Linked DNA regions of Homo sapiens: regions 2, 3, 4 and 5 are each linked to region 1. The links are contacts of gene promoters, found by promoter capture Hi-C in blood cells and fetal thymus (Javierre and others, 2016). All regions are on one chromosome and are shown on one strand. Each heading gives the region's core, a stretch centred on a gene start or on the middle of the fragment in contact. The rest is flanking DNA. Distances are from core to core; before and after follow the strand shown. Region 1 holds the start of SLC15A4 (solute carrier family 15 member 4). Region 2 overlaps GOLGA3 (golgin A3). Region 3 holds the start of TRA-TGC3-2 (tRNA-Ala (anticodon TGC) 3-2). Region 4 has its middle 2.0 kb from the start of TRD-GTC2-10. Region 5 holds the start of DHX37 (DEAH-box helicase 37).

The links. The method cuts DNA at HindIII sites, captures the fragments that hold promoters and counts their contacts. A CHiCAGO score of 5 or more calls a contact.
Region 2: a contact is called between a fragment that was not itself captured here and the fragment with the promoter of SLC15A4 in region 1, in 1 of 17 cell types (neutrophils). The highest score is 5.7, in neutrophils.
Region 3: a contact is called between a fragment that was not itself captured here and the fragment with the promoter of SLC15A4 in region 1, in 1 of 17 cell types (neutrophils). The highest score is 14.9, in neutrophils.
Region 4: a fragment that was not itself captured here is called in contact with the fragment with the promoter of SLC15A4 in region 1 in 1 of 17 cell types (neutrophils); the score reaches 6.6 in neutrophils.
Region 5: the fragment with the promoter of DHX37 here is called in contact with the fragment with the promoter of SLC15A4 in region 1 in 1 of 17 cell types (naive CD8 T cells); the score reaches 8.2 in naive CD8 T cells.

What each region holds. Positions count from the first base shown.
Region 1 is chr12:128,822,509-128,825,299 of GRCh38, reverse strand. It overlaps SLC15A4 (solute carrier family 15 member 4), which reads left to right and starts at 1,342. Exons shown (of 8, transcript NM_145648.4): 1 at 1,342-1,902. The coding sequence starts at 1,357. It overlaps LOC124903083 (a long non-coding RNA gene), which reads right to left and starts at 1,356. Exons shown (of 2, transcript XR_007063602.1): 1 at 1-1,356. RefSeq lists an enhancer at 1,432-1,591. The HindIII fragment of the contact is 5,029 bases long and covers 196-2,791 here.
Region 2 is chr12:132,767,345-132,770,135 of GRCh38, reverse strand. GOLGA3 (golgin A3) reads left to right here. Exons shown (of 24, transcript NM_001389683.1): 24 at 1-1,222. Among named protein-coding and RNA genes, the nearest start is that of ANKLE2, 6.9 kb to the right of the region's middle. RefSeq lists a cis regulatory region at 510 and enhancers at 426-595, 2,064-2,113, 2,224-2,273. The HindIII fragment of the contact is 243 bases long and covers 1,244-1,486 here.
Region 3 is chr12:124,919,824-124,922,614 of GRCh38, reverse strand. TRA-TGC3-2 (tRNA-Ala (anticodon TGC) 3-2) reads left to right here and starts at 789; the gene lies at 789-860. RefSeq lists enhancers at 994-1,313, 880-1,558, 1,394-1,583 and a cis regulatory region at 1,168-1,338. The HindIII fragment of the contact is 6,001 bases long and covers 1-2,791 here.
Region 4 is chr12:124,936,344-124,939,134 of GRCh38, reverse strand. No RefSeq gene overlaps it. Among named protein-coding and RNA genes, the nearest start is that of TRD-GTC2-10, 2.0 kb to the left of the region's middle. RefSeq lists enhancers at 155-424, 1-1,112. The HindIII fragment of the contact is 1,587 bases long and covers 620-2,206 here.
Region 5 is chr12:124,987,686-124,990,476 of GRCh38, reverse strand. DHX37 (DEAH-box helicase 37) reads left to right here and starts at 1,346. Exons shown (of 27, transcript NM_032656.4): 1 at 1,346-1,560. The coding sequence starts at 1,455. RefSeq lists a silencer at 1,433-1,642. The HindIII fragment of the contact is 16,586 bases long and covers 1-2,791 here.

The DNA.
Region 1 (2,791 bases), core at 93-2,592:
GTCCGCCTCGGCCTCCCAAAGTGCTGGGATTGTAGACGTGAGCCACCATCCCAGGCCGGGGTCTCAATTTCTGAAGCCATGCTGAGGGCCATTTTTGGGCGGCACTCTTTCACTCCACTATGTGCCAGGCGCTGTCCCAGAGGCAGGGGGCACAGTGAGGAACAAAACACAAGAGAATCCTGCCATCAGGAAGCTTACACCTGTTAACACATGCAGGTTGGGGAGATAAACGAATAAATTAAAAAATGTAACAGGTAATAAGGAGAAAAGAGTAACATGATGGAATGGGATACTCGGGCCTTGGACAGGCTAGTGAAAAAAATGTTTCTCTGAAGTCAACACTTCGGTGGAAGGTTGAAGGATGAGAAGCCAGCCATGCAACCATAGATGGTGTAGGGGCAGTCTCTGGGAAAGCCTGAAACAGGCTGGAGCTTGCCTTGTTCTAAGCCAGTGAGTCTCAATGGGGGCGTATTTGCCCCCAGGAGTCCTTCGGCAAAGTCTAGAAGACATTTTCGGTTGTTAACCTGAGGTGCTAGGGGGTGGAACTGGCCCCTAGTGGATAGCAGAGGCCAAAGCTGCTGCTGAACATCGTGCAACGCACAGGACAGTCCCGTCGCTCAAAGTGCCAACGATGCACGGGTTGAGAAACCGGGTCCTCTCCAGGACTGAAGCCCAGGGCAGGGAGCACGGGGGCAGCCTGAGCAAACCCGCCTGGAGAGCAGCCGCCGTCTCAGTGTGAGTTTTGGCTGCCTACTGGGCCCCACCGAAGCCCGAAGAGGGCCAGGCTCCGGCTTCTTTGTTTAAACTCCCTTAGTCCGACTGCCTGCAGTGGCTCATGCACGTAATTCCAACACTATGGGAGGCTGAGACGTGAGGAACGCTTGATGCCAGGAGTTCGAGACCAACCTGAGCAACAAAGCGAGACCCCATTTCAAAAAACTGTTTAAAAATTAGCCACAGGCAGCGGCGAGCGCCTGCGGTCCCAGCTACCCGGGAGGCTGAGGTGGGAGGGCCGCTTGATCCTGGGAAGCTGAGGCTGCAGTGAGGCGTAACCGCATGACTGCGCTCCAGCCTGGGCGAGAGAGGGAAACCCTGTCTCAAAAAGGCAAACAAAGGCTCTCGGCCGCCAAGCTGCGGAATCCCAAGCTCCCCAAGACACGCAGTGATCCAGAATACCGGCCACCTCCTCGCCTAGTGCCCGGGGCGGGGCCGGAAGTTCCGGCGAGTGGGGCGTTGAGCAGCGGCGAGCCCGCCCAATAGGGACATCTCAGGCCCGGCAGTCTCGCGAGAAGGGCGGCGGCCCTGGGTTCTGGGACAGGTGACCCGGCGGCGGGGCGAGGCAGCTGGCGGCGTCGCATGGAGGGCTCTGGGGGCGGTGCGGGCGAGCGGGCGCCGCTGCTGGGCGCGCGGCGGGCGGCGGCGGCCGCGGCGGCGGCTGGGGCGTTCGCGGGCCGGCGCGCGGCGTGCGGGGCCGTGCTGCTGACGGAGCTGCTGGAGCGCGCCGCTTTCTACGGCATCACGTCCAACCTGGTGCTATTCCTGAACGGGGCGCCGTTCTGCTGGGAGGGCGCGCAGGCCAGCGAGGCGCTGCTGCTCTTCATGGGCCTCACCTACCTGGGCTCGCCGTTCGGAGGCTGGCTGGCCGACGCGCGGCTGGGCCGGGCGCGCGCCATCCTGCTGAGCCTGGCGCTCTACCTGCTGGGCATGCTGGCCTTCCCGCTGCTGGCCGCGCCCGCCACGCGAGCCGCGCTCTGCGGTTCCGCGCGCCTGCTCAACTGCACGGCGCCTGGTCCCGACGCCGCCGCCCGCTGCTGCTCACCGGCCACCTTCGCGGGGCTGGTGCTGGTGGGCCTGGGCGTGGCCACCGTCAAGGCCAACATCACGCCCTTCGGCGCCGACCAGGTGAGCCGCGCCCCCGCGCGCTGTCCCTGTCCCTGTCCAGCCCCTGCCCAGCCCCAGCCTCTTCCCCTGCCCCAGTCCCTGCCTCTGACCGCGGAGGGAGCCCCTTGCCCCGGGGGGCTTCTGTCTAGTGCCGAGGAATCCCGCCAGCAGGTGGGCCAAGACTGGAGGTACCGGTGTGATGGGTGCTGGAAGGGGTTTGCCTGGGGCGGGGTGAGGTCTACACACACAGTGATGGCCACAGTGGCTTTAAAGAAAAGAGAGGCCGGGCGCGGTGGCTCACGCCTGTAATTCCAGCACTTTGGGAGGCCGAGGCGGGAGGATCTCTTGAGCCCAGGACTTTGAGACCAGGTTGGGCAACACAGTGAGACCTCATCTCTACCAAAATTTAAAAATTTGCCCTCCGTGGAGGCGCACACCTGTAGTCCTAGCAGAGAAAGGAGGATTCCTTGAGCCTACGAGTTTCGGAGGCTGCAGTGAGCTAGGGTCACACCAGTGCACTCTAGCTTGGGTAACAGAGTGAGACCCCACCTCAAAAAAATAAATAAATAAAATTTAAAAAATACGCTGAGCGCAGTGGCTCACGCCTGTAATCCCAACACTTTGGGAGGCCGAGGTGGGTGGATCACCTAAGGTCAGGAGTTCGAGACCAGCCTGACCAGCCTGGCTAAAAATACAAAAATTAGCCGAGCGTGGTGGCGGGCACCTGTTCTCTCAGCTAGTCGGGAGGCTGAGGCAGGAGAATCGCTTGCACCCGGGAGGCAGAGGTGCGATGAGCCGAGATCGCGCCACTCCACTCCTCCAGCCTGAGCGACAGAGCGAGACTCTGTCTCCAAATAAAAATAAATAAATAAATAAAAAATAAATGAACGGGACCCTTCTATGTTCAGGC
Region 2 (2,791 bases), core at 116-2,615, 3.9 Mb before region 1:
TCATTCTCCCCAGTAGCTGGGATTACAGGTGCCCGCCACCACACCAGCCTAATTTTTGTATTTTTAGAGGGGTGGAGTTCCACCATGTTGGCCAGGCTGGTCTTGAACTCTTGACCTCAGGTGATCCTGAGCCTCAGCCTCCCAAAGTGCTGGAATTATAGGCGTGAACCACCGCCCCCGGCTGCAGTTGGATTTTTAAATTGCTTTTTTTTATTGTTGAGGTTTTTTTATCTCCAAGGGACTCTCCCGGCACTTCTACCTTCCAGAGTTACTTCAGTGCATAAAGTTTGAATTATTTTGTTCTTGTGGGCAGAAGTGGGAATGATGGAATATCCTCACGGAAAAGGCAGTGAAGTTGGGAGTACTGCTTACAAAACAGGGTCACCAGTGCATTATGTGGCGTGTTCATCCCCACGCCGTGTGTCACGGGCTAGGGCGGCGTGTTCATCCCCACACCGTGTGTCACAACAGGCTAGGGCACTTCACGATGTCACTACTTGTTTTTCTGATGTTCCAAAAACAACGTAACTTGGTTTTCATGTGTTTTTCCGTGGTATATGTGAGATTGATGCTACGGGTCTTACGGACTCACACCCGTTCCCACTCTCTGCAATATGGATCAGGCAGTGTTTCTGATAGGATGTGAAATGGACTCTCCTCGGGTGGGTCCAGCAGGGGCCCTGCCCACCAGAACACAGTCCGTGCTGTGCTGCGCTAAGGAGCTGGCCCTCAACTCTCCTTGGTGCAGGGTTCCCACAACCGAGTTCTAGTTCCCTGAGGTCTTTAAAAACAAAAACAGAATGTTGTACGTGAAGATTCTAGGAGGGGAGGGACCAGCAAATCTGAGAGAACCGTCCTGGGGCCTCCCTTCGAGGAGCCCTCTGATGTGAGGAGGGACTTGAGTTGAGTGACGCTGTGGTGTGAGGTGTTCTGAGCTCACTGACCGGAAGGTCCAGGTGAATCTCGTCATAAGTGATCTCAGGCTCTCACAGGATCCGGAGGGAAATGTGTTAGAGGGTCTGGAAAATTCAGTGCTTTTGAGTTACTTGTTTTTATTAAAAATTTCCTCACAAAAGAGAGTCCTCAAGTTGTGGCTGTTCTTGGGAAAGGGGTCACCGTGTCTGACAAAGTGTAACTTTAAAAAGCACGTTGATTTTTTACAAATGTAAGTGTGCTTGGGAATTCCTTAAATTTTGTGCAATAAACTATTTTTTGGTAAAGATTTTCATATTCATTGGAAGCTTCATTTTAATAGTTATATTTTGTCGTTTGGCAGTAACTTTTTAATCTCATGTTATTACACACTCTGTTCAACACGTGCTTTAAAAGAGAATTCTACTGTCCTGCCGGTTTCTGGCAGGAGTGAAGCAAACTTCTGTGGCTTGTGACCACGGCAGACGCGCGGCACCGCCTCCTCCGTCCTTGGCCCACGCTTCGCTTTGCCCGTTGTCATTTGCCAGGAATACAGAAGGAGGGGGAGCAAGCTTCCCGGTGAACCGGGGAAGGATGGTGACCGCTCTGTGCTGCGCCTCCTGAACTGGGTCTCATCATCCAGGTGCTGCCCTCTGCTGGGCCTCCCCGGTGACAGTGGAGTCATGACTCTCAGACCTCAGCAATGTGACTTCCCAGATTCTCGTCTTTTTCATCCATACTTTGATTTTGGTCATTAAGAGTTAACCAGGCGTAAGCTGGGTGTGGTGGCTCACGCCTGTAATCCCAGCACTTTGGGAGGCTGGGAGGGGGTGGTCACCTGAGGTCAGGGGTTCAAGACCAGCCCGGCCAACATGGTGAAACTCCACCTCTACTAAACAAAAAATTAGCCAGGGCGTGGTGGCGGGCGCCTGTAATCCCCACTTGTCAGGAGGCTGAGGCAGAAGAATCGCTTGATCGGGCAGAGGTTGCAGTGAGCCGAGATCACACCACTGCACTCCAGCCTGGGTGACAGAGCATGACTCCGTCTAAAAAAAAAAAGAGTTAACCAGGTACAGAGTTTTCAGTTAGACGTTATTAGAGGCCACCATGGTTTAAAAAGTACAGAAAAGGGGCAGGAAGTGGTGGTCGCTGGGCTTGGCCCTGTGGGATTAATGCACTTCTTCCTGTGAGCGTTACCAGCTTCTGTACCCAGAGAATTGCTACACAGAGTAAAAATTCCCTGACCACCTTCTGTGGCCTTAACTTTCTGAAATATTAAGGATATAATTTTTTTTGGTCTATAGAACCCTTAAGGGGACATGTATGTATCTGAACTTTTTCCTTTTCTCCATGGAGTTGCTACGTGTTTGCAGGCACTGCACTGACAGGTATATTTTAAGCTGTGTCTGTCTCAGCAGCTCGAAGCTCCACGCTGCGTCCTGCTACAGAGCTCAGCAGTGGGTGTCAGGAGTGGTTTTGGCAGAGATGAATGGGTCACTTCTTCCTGGCTTAGAGTGGCGGCAGGTACTGTCAGGAATTTGGGTTGAGTGTAGGACAGAGGACGTATCGCTGATGGGAGGCTCAGGATTTTTTTTTTTTTTTTTTTTTGGAGACGGAGTCTCACTCTGTGGCCCAGGCTGGTGTGCGGCGGCGCGATCTCGGCTCACTGCAAGCTACGCCTCCCAGGTTCACGCCATTCTCCTGCCTCAGCCTCCTGAGTAGCTGGGACTACAGGCTCCCGCCACCACGCCCGGCTAATTTCTTTTTGTATTTTAGTAGAGACGGGGTTTCACCGTGTCGGCCCGGATGGTCTCGATCTCCTGACCTCATGATCCGCCCGCCTCGGCCTCCCAAAGTGCTGGGATTACAGGCATGAAGG
Region 3 (2,791 bases), core at 173-2,672, 3.9 Mb after region 1:
TGAGCCCAGATCATGCCACTGCACTCCAGCCTGGGCGACAGAGCAAAACTCTGTCTCAAAACAAACCAACCAACCAAAAACTAAAAGCCTCTCGCACTCCCGTGTGTATTGCAGCTTTATTCATAAGTGCCTAGATGTGTCCGTCAACAGATACATGGATAGAGAAAATGTGTACATACGCAATAGAATACTATTCGACCTTAAAAAAATACAAAACAAAATGAAATCCTGTCATTTTTCCTCTACGAAACAAAAATAAAAACATGGCTAAGTTTGGGCGACATTACATAAAGTGAAATAAACCGGGCACAGAAAGATAAATACTGCATGATCTCACTCACGTGCGGAAGCTGAAATAGTTGGTCTCACAGAGAGAATAGTGGTTACTGCAGGTAGTGAAGGTGGGGGGAGGTGGGATAGCCAAAGGGGGGTTACTGGATACAAAAGTACAGCTGAATAGGAGGAATAAGTTCCAGTGTCCCTATAGAGTGAATACAACAACTTATTGTACGTTTTCAAATAGCTGGAAGCGTGGATTTTTAATGTCTCCCAGCACAGAGAAATGATACATGTTTGAAGGGATGGATGTGGTCATTGCCCTGATTTGAACATTACAAATTGTGTACATAGATCACAACATCACACCACACCTCATAAATGTGCACAATTGTTATGCGTCCAAACAATAATAAAAACCAAAAATAAAAATGAAACACGTGGAAACAGGAAAAACGCCTTTAAGAATAGAGTATAGCAAGGACTTCCAAAAGCAAGTACAGGAAAGGGAGGGGGATGTAGCTCAGTGGTAGAGCGCATGCTTTGCATGTATGAGGCCCCGGGTTCGATCCCCGGCATCTCCATTGTAGTTTTGTTGCTTTCTGTATTCGTTTTGGTCCGTGGTTCTTTATCATTAAAGTGCCATGGATGTGATTATCATAAGCATTGTGATTCCAGGCACTACTTGGAGCTCAGATTCTCACACCAGGTGTGATCTTCCCATTCTGAAATCTCTAATGTTTCAAATGCACATGAGTTAGAAGAGGCTGATGGGAGTAATCAGCAGAAAAGTGTTAAGGCAAAACCTGACTTGATGACTGAAACCACAGCAAAAGTGAGCAGGATGATCATTTGGGGAGTGTACACCACATCTCGTGCCACCATGATTGTACTGCACTGGCCTCGAGGGCTGTTGACGCATTCTTGGCCATCAGAGGGCAAGTGTGTAAGTTGCTGGAAGGTCTGGGCCCCCCTGTTTGCCATCTCACTCCTCCTCTGCACTGCCACGAACCACCTCATTTGCATGGGAGGAACCCAGAAGCAAACTCACATCCCAGCGGGGCTTTGCTCTCTGCTTCCTCAGCAACACGTCTCCACGGCTGTAATGCAAGTGCAATTTACATTTATATTCATACACTGTGTTCCGGGGTGAGCAGGCCTATGCAAACCTACCCCAAAGGCCAAGGGAGCTGAGAGGCCAAAGAAAGGGGTTGACAAACCCAGTTTCTCAGGAAAAAACATTTATTAGGGACTTACCAACAGAAGCCATAGTCTCAGGGTGGTCATCAGAGGATATAAGGTTTGCTGCGCCATAACCCCCGGCCCAGGGCTTCCATACCATAGGGAAGGAATATATGTAGGACAATTGAAGTTGACCCCTCAAGCAAGGCAAGAATGTTATGTGAATCCGCATAAGGGAAGGATTTATGATCTAGGTTGTTCTGATCTAAGGGCAGAATTTATGGTAACAGTAAAGTAGAAATCTTAGAGACCTTCCTGGAAGAGGCATTAATCGGAAGTTATCTTGGTGGATTAGCAACCAAGATGGAGTTGCTTTCACCTCCACTGTGTTTCTGTGTTTTATCACTGAAAGCAAAAGATGGTGGCTCAGGCCTGTAATCCCAGCACTTTGGGAGGCATGAGGCAGGAGAATTGCTTGAGGCCAGGAGTTTGAAAGCAGCCTGGGCAACAAAGGGAGACCTTGGCTCGGAAAGGAAAGGAAAGGAAAGGAAGGGGAAGGGGAGGGAAAGGGGAAGGGGAGGGGAGGGGAGATTGATTTACTTGCATGAATGATCTTTAGGCAAAAATAAATACATAAAAATAAATTATATTTTTTAAAGTTTAACCAGTTCCCAGCTCTCTAAATAATAATAAGAATGAAAGAAGGGATTCGGCTGCATTCTGTGGTACAGTTCTTTGCAATTATAATGAATTCCTCACCTGTCAGCCCCTTTCTTTCATTTGACTTGACTTCATGTTTTAAATGGTAAAAGCGTCTAATCCTAGATCTAGAGCTTTCATTTTTGAGATGAAGAAAATGAAACTTGCGAACTGACTCACCAGTTAGGTGGTGACGCATTGGTGACAGCTTGTTTCTAATGAGCTTCAGGAAAGGTTATTTCTCCCTAAATGTCAACAAGGTTTTAGGGGAAAATCATTGAAGATAATTTCTGAAGTCATCAGGCCTAACACAAAACTTACATGCTTCTGTAACTGCCCAACAGTTTCTCCTTGCCCGCTGCCTAGACAGAGCCCATTTATTAGGACAGGGAAACTGTGATCCGCCCACCTCAGCCTCCCGAAGTGCTGGGATTACAGGCGCAAGCCACCTCGCCCTGCCATAATAGAGAACGTTTAATTCACACACAGCTGGCAGTGTGGGAGACGGGAGTTTTACTATTACTCAAATCAGTCTCCCTGAAAACTCAGGGATTGGAGTTTTGAAGGATAATTTGGTGTGTAGGGAGGTCGGGAAATCGGGAGTACTGATTGGTTGGGTCGGAGATGAAATCAC
Region 4 (2,791 bases), core at 164-2,663, 3.9 Mb after region 1:
GGACTCGGGTGGTGGGTGGGAGGAGTGACTTTTTGACTTTCCATTTCTGTACCTTTCTGGACTTTTGGAATTCTATTTTTTTCTCCCTTCTTTTCTTTCCTTTCCTCTCTTATTCGATTTTTATCAAAATGATACGTCTAATTTTTAAAAGTCAGATACAACTGAAGAATATTTATTCCTTATGCATGAGGTCCCTATTGCTGTGTTTTGACTTCATTGGCTGCAGCCAGACCTCACAATTTAAACTAAAACCCGATTAGCTAACAGTTCAAAAATTTTTTAAATAGGTAAAAGCAGTGAGGAACATAGGAAAAAAGGATGTTCCTTACGAAAGGACTTAGAAAAGTAATAATATTCCTAAATAAGGAAGAGTGTAGGCTGCAAGCTGGGACATGCCTGGGCACGTCCAGCACGAATATTTTGACAAAGGTACAAGGACATAGAATGTACTACGTGCCTGTGAGCATGTTTAGCACAGATACCGAAGTCAGAGTGTGCTTATTCTGTTACATTTGCTACCTAAGGCTTAACAGAGAGTTATTACTATAAAATAAGAAATTTGAAGAAAGTTAGTTCTGAGAAAAGATATTAATAACATTTATGATTTAAAGGGGAAGCTTTGAAGAGGAACTTTTGCTTTCTACATTTCCTTCCCTTTTAATTTTTATAATTTTTCCTTTTTAAACTGTTTTAGCATGTTTTGGCTTAATTGTTCTACTTGAGCTTTTAAGAGGAGAAATCTCTTAGAATAAGGTGGAGGAGAGTTAAGATAGGTTTTAGTAGTTTTGGTAAGAACTGTCGTTATTAATTTTGTCATTAGCTTCCAGAGGCATGGTATAACATCCGAGAAGGAGAAGTGTACCTATTACGGTAGTAATAGAAGTGAGAATTGAGGTTATAGTTTCCTTCCGTTGACCAAACCATCGTCCTAGCCAATTTGAAATAGGGTTATTAATTCTAGAATTTCTAGTAAGCTCTTTAGATAAAGCAGTGAGACCTTGTAAGGTTCTGGTTATACTTCTGTTAGGAGTCGTGTTATTTGGGATGAAGGTTGTACACAACATTGGGTTTTAATTATAACACAAACACCACCTTTCTCGGCTAATACTACATTTAAAGCCATTTTATTTTCCTAAGCCATTTTAGTAGTGGATCCTAACTGTTCTGCTATTCCTTTAATAGCATCTTTAAGTATAGTTAATAAATTGTTGTTGATAGTAATAAATATTGTTTATCCAATTTACATTCTTATTAATTGTTATTTGTGGGAGAAGGGATTTGAACCTCACAGCTCTCTGATTTCTAGCTTTGAATTTATCTGATATACCTCGTGGAACGTCAGTTGTATCTAAATAAACATGGGGGTCAAAGGACCTACGAGAGGCTTCTCTTGTTTTACGATGTCATGTTTTTTTGTTTGTTTGTTTTTCTGGTTGATGAAATGCCAGGGTAAAAGGGATAGCTAACTGAACTAGAGCACAAGTACCGCTCCAATTATTTGGCAAAGTGTCCAGTAAAGGTTCTCCAAAATACCACCATACACCCACTCGGGGATGAATAAGGGCTGACTGATGGGTCAGCTCTTGGAAGTGCCTGACCTCACTGCATTCTGTTAAGTTTCTTTCTTTCTTTCTTTCTTTTTTTTTTTCCTCTTTTTGAGAGGGAGTCTAGCACTGTCGCCCAGTCTGGAGTGCAGTGGCGCGATCTCAGCTCACTACAAGCTCCACCTCCCAGGTTCACGCCATTCTCCTGGCTCAGCCTCCCTAGTAGCTGGGACTACAGGCGCCCGCCACCACGCCCGGCTAATTTTTTTGTATTTTTAGTAGAGCCGGGGTTTCACCGTGTTAGCCAGGATGGTCTCGATCTCGTGACCTCGTGATGCGCCTGCCTCGGCCTCCCAAAGTGCTGGGATTACAGGCGTGAGTCACCGCGCCCGGCCGTTTCCTTGACTTTTAAAAGAAAAATTAGGTTGGTGTCCTGGAACATGGACAATGGCTATTTCTTCCGGTAATTGAAGATTATTAAGAACATGAACAACTAGTGTTTCATGAGCAAGTTCCTTACCTTTACTGTTAAATAGTTCTCGCTCAGCCTAAATTTTTCCAAATGTATGAGATACTCTGAAAGCATATTTAGAGTCAGTATAGATAGTTCCTACCTGGTTCTGTAAATATTTTAGGGCCTAAGTGCGAATAACTTGCAAGCTTGAGCAGACCAATTATTTGGTAATCTTCCTGATTTTACTTTTTTTAAGGTCTCTTTATCAATTACAGCATATCCATTATGTTGTGTCCTTTCAATCATTTAGGAGGAGCCAGGGTGGTCTCAAACTCCTGAGCTCAAGCAATCCCCGCGCCTTAGCCTCCCAAAGTGTTACGATTACAGGTGTGAGCCACCTCACCCAGCCTAATATCTTTATTATAGAAATAATTTTTTAAATCACTAAGAAAAATTCAAAAATATCAATAGATCACAATCAACAGGCAATGAATTTACAGAAGAGGAAAAATGATTCATTAATAAAACTTACAGAAAAGCTTGGCTCTTAGAAGTATTTAAATAAATGGAAGTAAAACACAAGTTACTACTTTCAACCCATGATGTTGTGAAAGTTGTCAGAATCAAAATGAAGTCATGGATGTTAAGTAAGTAAATAAATAAATAAATAAACCCTGACAAATAGAACCAGGGAAGGCCATGAAGAGAGGGTTCCCGTGCTTGCAGGCCTGATAAAAGACTCTAGAAAAACCACAACCTTGCACAAACGCCTTCGCGACCTTACACAAAAAAG
Region 5 (2,791 bases), core at 97-2,596, 3.8 Mb after region 1:
GTAATTCCGGCACTTTGGGAGGCCGAGACAAACGGATCCCTTGAGCCCAGAATTTTGAGACCAGTCTAAGCAACATAGGGAGACACCATCTCTACAAAAAAATAGAAAAATTAGCCCGTCGTGGTGGTGTGTGCCTGTAGTCATAACTACTCAGGAGGCTGAGGTGGGAGGACAGGTCAAGGCTGCAGCGAGTGGTGATTGCACCACTGCACTCTGGCCTGGCCCACAGGGCGAGATCTCATCTCTTAAAAAAAAAAAAAAAAAAGTCGGGCGCGGTGGCTCATGCCTGTAATCCCAGCACTTTGGGAGGCCCAGGCAGGCAGATCACGAGGTCAGGAGTTTGAGACCAGCCTGGCCAACATGGTGAAACTCCGTCTCTACTAAAATACAAAAACTAGCTGGGGGTGGTGGCGGGCACCTGTAGTCCCAGCTACTCGGAAGGCTGAGGCAGGAGAATCGTTTAAACCCGGGAGGCAGAGGTTGCAGTGAGCCGAGATTGCTCCACTACACTCCAGCCTGGGCAACAAAGCCAGACCTTGTCTCAATAATAATAATAATGCATTGTTTCCCAGTGTGTTACAATGTGATGCGGTAATGGGAATTTAAAGTTATGTAATAGACAACTTTATTTTTTTTTTTTTGAGACAGAGTCTAGCTCTGTTGCCCAGGCTGAAGTGCAGTGGTGCAGTCTCGGCTCACTGCAACGTCCACCTCCCGGGTTCAATCAATTCTCTGCCTCAGCCTCCCAAGTAGCTGGGATTACAGACGCCTGCCACCAGGCCTAGCTAAATTTTTTTTGTATTTTTGGTAGAGACGGGGGTTTCACCATCTTGGCCAGGCTGGTCTTGAAATCCTGACCTCGTGATCCGCCCGCCTCGGCCTCCAAAAGTGCTGGGATTACAGGCGTGAGCCACCGCGCCCGTAGAGGCCTCCTTTTAGATCTTCCATCTATCCCTGTGATGGAAATATTTGGTGCCTTTTTAAAAGTACACGACTAATACGTTTCTTGTAGGAATATCAGAAAATACAGATGCGCAAACCAGGGTTGGGGGGAAGAAGTTTGGAGTACTGGGGGCGGGGTATATTTTAAAAGGTGGCAAAACACTTCCACTCCCAAGAAGCCAAATTAGTATCAGTAGATATAATTCATATTTAAACCCAGACTACCCCAAGCGAGAACAGCCCAGGACTTAAACTCCGGCCTCCGCTGGGACCTCAGGCCCCGCCTACTTCTCTAAATAGTCCCGCCCCCTGCCCGGCCCGGCTCCGCCTCTCCTCTTCGCTGGGTTTCTCTTGCAACCCCGCCCCTCAGCGGCAAAGTCAGTTACAGTTCTCGCGATAACACAACCCGGAAGTCTCACGGCCGGAGTTGGTGGTCTGGGAACCCACGTGGGCTGGGTTTCGGATTGCTCTGCTGGTCCGGCCGCTGGAGCGCCCACCCTGGCCTAGTCGCCATGGGGAAGCTGCGCCGGCGCTACAACATCAAGGGGCGCCAGCAGGCGGGCCCCGGACCCTCGAAGGGCCCCCCCGAGCCGCCCCCCGTGCAGCTGGAACTGGAGGGTAAGACATCCCCGGACCGGGGCTGGATTTCGGAGATTTCCCAGGGCGGCCTGTGCCCTGCCTTCAGGACTCTCGGGTGGGGATCCCAGAGGGGTGGGATGGATCATCTGGAATGGGGGAATGGGTCCCCCCATTCCAGATGATCCAAAGGAGAGGGGCTTAGTGACAGCCTAGTTTTAACAGTGTATATGGAATACCCGGGATTTCTCTCGCCCTCAAATAGTAACATGGAGAATTTGGCAAAAAAAACAGGAGTAGTTCCATCCCTTCCCATGACTTCGATTATAATCTCTTTATAATCTCCAGCGACCCCCAAATGTGTATTTTCAGCCCAGTCTTGTCTGCTCAGCTCCAGGCTGGCTGACATTTCTCTCAGACCCCTTTTTAGGAGTAGCCCTTATTACATGCCAGGCACTATTCTAGGCACTGGAGACATAGCAGAAAGGGAGATTTTTAGAAAATCCCTGAGTTTACCTGCTGTATAGGAGGAGACAGGCAAAGAATAAACATATAGAAATTTATGCGGCTATAGTGAGCAGATAAAACAGAAGAGGCCATTGGGTGGGTTGCAGCATCCCATAGAGTTGCTGGAGAAGACATCACTCTGTTAGAGTCAAGATCTGAAGGAGACCTGAGTGGCTGCCTGGAGATGAGAGAAAAAACAGGGGGCCAGGGCAGGTCGGGCCTGGACTGCAGTCTTGGCGAGGACTGGGGCTTTTTCTCTACGGGAGAGGGCAGCCATGGGAGCATTTAGAGCAGAGGAGGCGTGGTGGTGGGCACCTGTAGTCCCAGCTACTTGGGAGGCTGAGGCAGGAGAATGGCTTGAACCCAGGATACGGAGGTTGCAGTGAGCCAAGATCGCACCACTGTACTCTAGCCTGGGTGAGAGAGCGAGACTCCATCTCAAAAAAAAAAAAAAAAAAAAAAAAGTTCCACAGACAGGCTGGGAGTTGAGGCAGATCCCCTAACATCTCTGTGCCTTCGTTTTCACATCTGCAGAATGGGACCAGTAGCACACGTTGAGCAGCCTTAATCCAAAATACTCCAAAATTCAAAAGTTTTTGAGTGTCAACATGACACTTAAGGAAATGCTCATTGGAGCATTCCAGATTTCAAATTTTTAGATTAGGGATGCTCAACCAGTGAATAGAATACAGATGTTCCTAAAGCTAAAACAGGTCTGGTTCCTAGCATTTCTGGAAAGGGATATTTAACCTGTAGTAGCCGTCTT